Linked DNA regions of Homo sapiens: region 1 is linked to region 2. The links are contacts of gene promoters, found by promoter capture Hi-C in human tissues and cell types (Jung and others, 2019). All regions are on one chromosome and are shown on one strand. Each heading gives the region's core, a stretch centred on a gene start or on the middle of the fragment in contact. The rest is flanking DNA. Distances are from core to core; before and after follow the strand shown.

What was found. Contacts are between HindIII fragments. The study calls those that stand out against the background at their distance.
Region 1: a contact is called between a fragment that was not itself captured here and the fragment with the promoter of CNDP1 in region 2, in 1 of the 25 tissues and cell types used here (spleen).

What each region holds. Positions count from the first base shown.
Region 1 is chr18:74,275,275-74,280,055 of GRCh38, forward strand. The region is part of intron 1 of CYB5A (cytochrome b5 type A); the gene reads right to left. Among named protein-coding and RNA genes, the nearest start is that of CYB5A, 14 kb to the right of the region's middle. RefSeq lists an enhancer at 710-879. The HindIII fragment of the contact is 5,984 bases long and covers 1-4,781 here.
Region 2 is chr18:74,532,917-74,537,595 of GRCh38, forward strand. It overlaps CNDP1 (carnosine dipeptidase 1), which reads left to right and starts at 1,584. Exons shown (of 12, transcript NM_032649.6): 1 at 1,584-1,775. The coding sequence starts at 1,752. The HindIII fragment of the contact is 24,351 bases long and covers 1-4,679 here.

The DNA of each region.
Region 1 (4,781 bases), core at 589-3,088, 260 kb before region 2:
TCCCAGCCTCCTTGCAGCTACATATCTCATGTGGTTAAACTCTGGCTCATGGAATGGAAGAATCTTCCAGAAGTCTTCCTTCTGGAGTGGTGGATCCTCTGTGCCCTGTCTTCCTTCATCCTGCTGCCTGGAGTTGAGATACCGCCTCCGAGCACCAGGATGAGGCTGTCCCCAGGACAGGCCGAGAAGGGAGCGGGATGCAGTTATCACACAGCTCTGGTGGCAAAGATCACTTCTTTAGGGCAAATAAACTCCTGTCCCGCTTAAGCCAGTTATTAGAGGATCTCCTGAGCCTAATCCTAATTACTACATCAATCATTTAGTCAAGAAAAGTGACCTGTGTAAACATGCAGAAGCATCTGAAACTCACGAATACACAGTCCGAGCCTCGAGAAGCTTCCTACCAATCAGGGTTTGACATGCAGCAAGCAACAAGAGGAACATGAAGGGGCATCCGAATTGTTGCCTGAACACAGCAGAGTCTGGAAAAGCGGGAGCTATTAAAAAATAACCTCAGCCCCTTTAGAATAGTTAGGATGTGGATCAATAGAGCAGATAAATAAAGATGAAGAAGCTGAAAAGGAGAGGCTTGAAGAACATGCTGGAGGAGCCGTCGCCACACAGTAGGGTGGCCAGGGAGGACCCGGCGGTGCGCAGACCAGATACCCCAACACCAGCGCGGCACCGGGATCTGACCCAGCCCAGAGGCGTCTCCAACCCCATTTCTCCCCCTCGACCCAACACAAGCTCCAGCCTTAATACTTAACTCCCTCAGCTTCCTGCACAGCCCACTATCCTCCACCTCCTCTGTGAGCCTGGCATCAAAACCAGGCAACTGACCTGGAGATCTTGACTCCAAACGGTAGGGTGAAGGTGAAAAATCCCAGAGGCTTAGAGGTGCAAAGGACCTTCAGAGACTCAACATCCTAAATTTTCAGACAGAGAAAATGGGACGCAGAGGAATGAAGCCCAGTGCCACACTGATAGCTCACGAGGGAGGTGGGACGGGAACCCTGCTTTCTGACTTTGAGAGTTCAGTTCCCCCCACCTTTTTTTCTGAACATGCAAATAAAGTGACCATTTTTACATTTCTGAACAAAGTATCTTTAAATATAAAAAGATGTCTTAAAAATAAAGTTTCTTCATAAATTTCCCTTTTGAGAATTTGGGAGAAAACTTCACAGACTTCTAAACCTCAAGAAATTTTGTCATCTGCCCTGCCTTTCTGGGTCTTACGAAGTACAAAAGATTCAGCACACACACACACACACACACACACACACACACACCCTTCTGTCAGGGTTCCACTTGACTACAAGGTTGTCACTATTAAACAGTCAAAAGCGTATGCAAAACGACACTACAATATGACAATCTGCAGCAGGTCAAAGTCATGCCTTCGGAGGGTTTGCTTAACCAAGCAAAAATGAACCGAACCCAGGGGAATGAACGCAGGCCGCCTGACTCCACACCAGGTCTCCTAACCACTGTATGTACTAAGAGGAGAGCCACTTTAACAGGCGTCTAAGTCGAGATGATTCCCGTGTCCCTCAGGCACAGTCTGTTTGGCAGCTACCCATCTGCAGGATTAAGTCATATAATTAATTAGTAGACTCCTTGGCAAGTAAGAGAAGTTCGAGAAAGACAACCATAACAAAAAACCCTTTTCACCTAAATGCAATGCTAAGTGACTGAAGTCCATCCATTCTGGAGTTTTAAACAGGATCTTTCATTCCAAATGCTTAACATACCAAAAAAGGTGGAGTACAGAGATTGTCCATAAACAACAAGTAGGCAAAAACAACCTTTAATTTAAAGAGCTTATCTGCAATAGTTAAGCCCAAAATGAAAACAATTCAAAAGAGTTTGGAGAATGAACAATTGATGCAAGATTTAGAATAAGATAACAAGATGCCCTGACCAAACATTTCCTATCATTTCTGGATGCTGTTTTTCTAAGACGGGAAAGGGTGATGGCCTCAAAGTTGGTTTGAGTTCATCAGACTTCTGTCCTGCTCCATTCTGGACTCTGTGGAGGGGCCAGCATCTGCATGGGGCACCAACTCGGGGCTTCATATCCACCCTCTCACTGTATCCCCATAAGCCTTGATGGAATTACTTCCCATTTCACCTAGAAGGTCATGGCATGAAACTAAAGAGGCCCCTCTGGCAGTCACCCAGCTTGCCTATGGGACCCACAAACTCATTCAAACATCTGATGAATGCCAAGCCATGCTCTGTTGCTACCAAAATGGCAAAGTCATGGCCCCACCCTCAAGAAGTTAGAGTCTAGTAAGGAAACTGACATGTAAACAGATAGCTAAATGTGGCGAGCATCAGGTGCAGGAGTCATGGCACAAAAGATGGAGGGATTAACTCTCCCAGGAGTGTGAGGCAGAGAAAAGGCCCAGGAGGGGTCACTCAGGAGGCAACGCTTAGACTCTGTGTGAACATTTCAGCAGGAGCTCGCCAGGTGAGCAAGGGGAGGCATCCCAAGCCCGGGACACAGACACATAGAGGCCCTGAGGCAGAACACAACGGTGTCATGGAGGATACAGGGGTAACTTTATATGGCTCAGGTGAGGGCTTGGGTCTCCAGTGAGAAATTAACCCAGAAAGCCCAGACTGGAAGAGAGCACCTGGAGTTTCTGCCGAAGATCTCTGCATTTCACAGCCTGAACAAATGCCTTCAATTTCTCTCCTTTCCACTCTAGCAGCCAGGGAAAAAGTCTAGGGACAAATAATGATGAATATCAGTGGGTAACATCTAATAAATGCTCACTGTGTATAGGGAAGTATTCTGAGCACTTGTGTGGACCCTTCTAAAGCTCATAAGCCCAAGAGGCAGGCATTACCATTACTATCCCCACTTTACAGACAGAGGTGACGGAGCCAGTTAGGGGAGGCCCTGGGGAATGAACGCAGGCCGCCTGACTCCACGCCAAGTCTCCTGACCACTGTGTGTACTGAGAGGAGAGCCACTTCGCTGAGATCTGCTAACAGGGGTCTAAGTCCAGATGATTCCTGAGTCCCTCAGGCACAGTCTATCTGGCAGCTACCCATCTGCAGGATTAAGTGAATTAATTAGCAGACTCCGTGGCAAGTAAGAGATGTTCGAGAAAGATCAGTTCACTTTTCCTTCTTCCTCATCCCCATTTTATATTGCCACAGAGACTATGTATAGTCCCTGGCACAGTTCCTGGCCTTTGTAAATTGCTGAAGGCCAATTCCAGCACCAAACCCAAGGGACCCCCTTCTCACCACCTCTCCTTCATCTTCAAAAGTTATCTCTGGATTTAATCAACTGGCTGGATTCTCCTGAATCACAGAACCAAATGGCACACATTCACAGAAACATCCTATGATAAAAATAATAGACATTTCTACATGAGATGGTTCTTAAAGGTTAGTTAGGCCAAGGGCAGACAGGTCTTATGCACAGCCTGTGAGCTGGCAATCATCCTGCAGAATGCTGTTAGAATTTCCTCTTCTTGAAAAAGAGAAACAAAATTCTTCTTAATTACTTTTAGAACTGAATTAGTAAATGTTTGGTCTAAAACGTACTGGTAACCAAATTTTGGTCACTATGCCCTGACCAGTATTTCAACTTCTACCATTACTACACTTGTCTCATTGGATAAAATAAAGCAGGTGTGCTAATTCTTCCTCTAATCTCTGAAGAGTACATAAGCCACCAATTCTGACATGATGACCTTGGGGTACAGGGAAGGACCAGGGACAGGCCTGCTTCTGAGGGACAAGAGCAGGAGGGCACTGTGGCACCAGTCCTGCCAGGCCCAGAGCTGCCACAGCTTACCTCCTGCTTTGTAACCCAATGCAACCCGATGTCCTCAGAGGAATATGCAAGCCACCAAAACTGGGGGCCCAGTGGTAGATGAGTGATGACCTAAGAGAGGCTGTTACTCTAACTACGATCTATCTTAAGCTGGAATGGCCAAAAGATGAGACAAGGCCGGGCGCGGTGGCTCACGCCTATAACCCCAGCACTCTGGGAGGCCAAGGCAGGCGGATCACCTGAGGTCAGGAGTTTGAGATCAGCCTGGCCAACAAGGCAAAACTCTGTCTCTACTAAAAAATACAAAAATTAGCCAGGCATGGTGTCAGCCACCTGTAATCCCAGCTACTCAGGAAGCTGAGGCAGGGAGAACTGCTTGAACCCGGGAGGCAGAAGTTGCAGTGAGTTGAGATCGTGCCACTGCACTCCAGCCTGGGCGACAGAGTGAGACTCCGTCTCAAAAATAAATAAATAATAAATAAAAATAAATAAAAAACAAAAGAGATAATAGAATAGCCTACGCTCAGCCCAGAGGTGGAAAGAAAGCAGGATTGACAGTGGCATGTGCCCATCTCTCTCTTTTGTTTTTTTTCCTCTCAATGCCAAATAACTAGGCCTCTCTTTCATGTTTAATCATAATAAACTGGGTTGAAATATGCAGGTGAGACAAAGGAGAAATAAAATAAGGTATCAGAAAATTATTCAATGTCACCCAGCAGCCATTCCACATCAGCTTTCTAGTATTTTATATTTATAAACTTTTAATTCTTATTCAATCAATAAATAACTATTTAGTCCTTTCTATGTGCCAGCATTGTTCTAAAAACTGGATTTATCAGTGAATAAAAGAGAAAAAGTCCTGCATTCACAGAGCATACATTTCTAGTGGAAGGACACAGAGAAGCAAAAACTAATAAATGAGTACATTATACCGTATGTTACAAGGTAATACATGCTACAGGGAAAAACTCAGCAGCATAACTGG
Region 2 (4,679 bases), core at 334-2,833:
TCCAGAGATTTCTTTGTTGGTAAAAATTATTTGATTATTTGTCCTTTCATTCAGCAAACAGTTAGAGTAAGTCTCCAGTGTGCCAATCCCTGCAAGAGTTATTCAGAGAGAAATGATGCAAAAGAATCCCAGTCCCCCAGAAAAGCCCCGGGACCCCTCAACCCAAGGCTCTGGCCTGTGCCCTGCTGCCTCCTTTTCTCTACTGTCCCCTGACCTTCCCACCAAAATTTATATGTTGACATCCTAACCCCCAAGACCTCAGAATGTGACCTTCTATGGAGATAGGGTCATTGCAGATTGAATTACTTATCTTTAGATAAGGTCACATGGGCATAGGATGGACCCCTGATTACACACAACTGTGTCCTTATGAGAAGGGACAATCTGGACACACACACATACACAGGGAGAACATCATAAGAAGATGAGGGCAGAGATCGGGTGATGCTTGTACAAGACAAGGGACACCAAGGACGGCCAGCAGCCACGCGGGTCAAGGCCTGGAGCACGCCCTTCCCGCTCAGCCTCAGGAGAAACCTGCCCTGCCCATACCTTCATCTCAGACTTCCAGTCTCCAGAATTGAGACCGATTTCTGTTGCTTAAGCCACCCAGTGTAGGGTACTTTTGTTAGAGCAGATGTTGGGGCTCAGAAGCCAATACCCCAAAATATGGTGCTTTGTTCAAGCTGAACTGAAAAGGAACTTCAAGGCCTCTCGGCTCCCCCACCCCCACCATCTCTCCCAGAGTTCCTGAAGTGTCCTTATCTCCTTCAAGTCTGACCCACCAAAGAAGAAAGGAATGACCTCTAGTCCCTTCCCTGAGTTTTCGTTAACTGAACCCATATCTCAGGAAGGAAGGCTGACACCGAACACGCTGGACAGACTTGTCAAGACCATTGTCTGCTCCGGGGCCCAGCAGACTTGAACGAAGACCGTGGCGTGCTCTTCAAGCCCACTGAATCCTCCCTCGTGAGCGCTGATTGCCCTCAGCTGAAGTCCTCTTTTCTCCTCCCATAACCTGTTGCGCGAGAATCTAAGCCGCCACTCCTTGTGGAACCTCAAGAGGGTGTCTCAGCTTCCCAACCCCATTAGGGATTGGTCCTTCCTTCTGAAGGCTCCCATGTCACTTAAAACTAGGAGCAAATCAATCTGTTATGCCTCTTCTCCAATTCAACTGCCCTTTGCAAGCTGATTTTGCAGCGAACCTTCAGAGAGCTGGGAAAACTCTACCCTCGGCCCCTGCACAGCCCTAGGAAGCTAATCCTCGGCCGTAACATTCCATCACAAGGGCCCACAGCCACAGTGTGTGGGGGCCTGTCATGTGAGGGGGCTGTCACCTGAGGGGGCTGTGCCGCTGGCTCAGCTCTGCCTGCTGGCCGGGGCCCTACTCCCTCTCAGAGATGACACACAAGTGCCCCCAAAGAAGAACCCGAGGAGTCGCAGGCTGGGCCAGGCTGCTGGCTTCCAGTGACATCACATGACTTTGGGGCCACTGCCTCATCCCGTATCTGCGCGTATGAGATGCATTGTCTCTTCCTCTGCAGTTGAGCTGAATGAATACCTCCGAAGCCGCTTTGTTCTCCAGATGTGAATAGCTCCACTATACCAGCCTCGTCTTCCTTCCGGGGGACAACGTGGGTCAGGGCACAGAGAGATATTTAATGTCACCCTCTTGGGGCTTTCATGGGACTCCCTCTGCCACATTTTTTGGAGGTTGGGAAAGTTGCTAGAGGCTTCAGAACTCCAGCCTAATGGATCCCAAACTCGGGAGAATGGTGAGTAGGACCTCCTCCATCAGAGTCCGTGCATTGGGTGCCAGAATTCCATTTGTCCCGGGAGCATGTGCGTTAAGCCCAGTTGGGCAGGGCAGGCACCCAGCGTGGCCCCAGATGCTGCTCCTCATGGTGTTCTTAGGTGCTGTCTTGGCCGAGGAATGTGGTATTTGGAATTATATTTTATCAGTAATGCTTTTGGGTAGTTGTGTGTTCTTAACAATAATTAAATGGCATTATTGTCAAGTAGTTCATATTCAAATTGTTCATGAACTCAGTCTTCTTAAATCAATTTTTTTCTGTACTTTTTCTCTTTAAAAAAAATGAGTTTGCTTCCTGGAAGAATTTGCCTAAATAATGGTAACAGACAGTGTGCTGTTTGTCCTGGTCCCAGGTTCCCGACTTAAGGGCTAGTTTGCAAGAGCTAATCACCGGGCTAAATCACCCCAGGCCTTTCTCGGCGAGGTTTCCATGGTTCAGGTGCAAACCTGAGTGTGGGTGTGGCGGGAAGGCTTCTCTCTAGGAAAACAAGCAGGCAGGTACCTTTGGCTGTGAGGTTTTGTGGGGTTGTGTTCCAGACTACTTGGAAAGATAAAATTCATGGACGCTTTTTATTTCCATTGCAAACACACACATACACACACAGAAATTTTCAGAATTTTGTGGAAGGTTGATACGTAGAAGACTCTCAAAAGACATACTGAAACAAATACATGCAAATGCGAGGCTGGAGACACAGTGAGCAGGCAGGTGGTGACCTGACCACAGCCGGATTCTAGAAGTGGGCTTTGCCCACCTGCAAGACCATGAGATTCCCACACCATGCTGCAAAATCACTGCTCTGAGAGAAAGAACCTCACCCTGTGGTCTGGCCATGCTTTCCATTGCTGACTTTTTTTTTTTTTTAAAGAACCCATGACTGGCCAGGGCATTGGGGTGGGGGTTAGAAGAGGACATTTCACTGAATACTGTCTTACTTTAAAAAATCTTTAAACTGTGTCATGATAGTATCTATTCAAAACATTAAAGTTAAAAGCAACATGAAAGAAAATAATTTCCCTGGCTGGGCATGGTGGCTTATGTCTGCAATCCCAACACTTTAGGAGGCCAAAGCAGGAGGATCACCTGAGCCCAGGAGTTCAAGACTGGCCTGGGCAACATAGTGAGACCCTGACTCTACAAACAATTTTAAAAGTAGCCAGGCAGGGTGGAGCATGCCTGTGGTCTCAGCTACTCAGGAGACCAAGGTGGGAGGATGGCTTGAACCTGGGAGGTCGAGGCTGCAGTGAGCCATGGTTGCGCCACTGCACTCCAGCCTGGGAGGCAGAGTAAGACCCTGTCTGAAACAAAAAAGAAGGAAATATTTTGTTTTGGACTCAATATAATACCCTTTGATATGAAAGAGAGGAAGAGATTGTACTATATATTTTCCCCTTTGCTATTCTTTTACTTTTTTTTAACTTTTATTTTTGGTTTAGCAGTACATGTGCAGGTTTCTTACATAGGTAAATTTGTGTCATGGTGATTTGTTGTACAGATTATTTAATCACCCAGGTATTAAGCCTAGTACTCATTAGTTATTTTTGCTGATCCTCTCCCTCCTCCCGTCCTCCACCCATAGGCCCCAGTGTGTGTTGTTCTCCTCTATGTGTCCATGTGTTCTCATCATTTAGCTCCCACTTACAAATGAGAACATGCAGTGTCTGGTTTTCTGTTCCTGCATTAGTTTGCTAAGGATGATGGCCTCCAGCTCCATCCATATTCCTGCAAAGGACATGATCTCATTCTTTTTTATGGCTGCATAGTATTCACCATGGTGTAGATGTACCACATTTTCTTTACCCAGTCTGTCATTGATGGACATTTAGGTTGATTCCATGTCTTTGCTATTGTGAATAGTGCTGCAGTTAACATTCACATTCATGTGTCTTTATAGTAGAATGATTTATATTCCTCTGAGCATATAACCCAGTAATGGGATTATTGGGTCAAACGGTAGTTCTGTTTTTAGCTGTTTGAGGAATTGCCACACTGCTTTCCACAATAATTGAACTAATTTACACTCCTACCAACAACGTATAAGTTTTCCCTTTTCTCTGCAACCTCACTTGCATCTGTTATTTTTTGACTTTTTAATACAGTTGTTTGATGTGAGATGGTATCTCATTGTGGTTTTGATTTGCATTTCTCTAATGATCAGTGATACTGAGCTTTTTTTCATATGCTTGTTGGCCACATGTATATCTTCTTTTGAAAAGTGTCTGTTCATGTCCTTTGCCCAGTTTTTAATGGGATTGTTTGTTTTTTCTTGTAAATTTGTTGAAGTTCCTCGATACTGGATATTAGATCTTGGTCAGATGCATAGTTTGCAAATATTTTCTCCTATTCTGTAGGTTGTCCGTTTACTCTGTTGATAGTTTCTTTTACTGTGCAGAAGCTCTTAAGTTTAATTAGATTCTATTTGTCAATTTTTGCTTTTGTTGCAATTGCTTTTGGTGTCTCTGTCATGAAATCTTTGCCTGTTCCTATGTCCAGGATGGTATTGCCTAGGTTGTCTTCCAGGGTTTTTAGAGTCTGGGGTTTTATGTTTAAGTCCTTAATCCATCTTGAGTTGATTTTTGTATATGATGTAAGGAAGGGGTCCAGTTTCAATCTTCTGCATATGGCTAATGGCTAGCCAGTTATCCGAGCATCATTTATTGAATAGGGAGTCCTTTTCCATTGCTTGTTTTTGTCGCTATTGCTGACTTATTACCATCACCTTTTTCTAATACTGAGAGAGAAAAGAAAGTCATCAATTCTATTCTTGGGATCTTGAGCCCAAGATTGGGCAAACTCTTTCTTTTACTGTGACACAGATCAAATGCCCATCAACAGCTAGGGTGGATCCCTGGCTGTGGCCCAGGG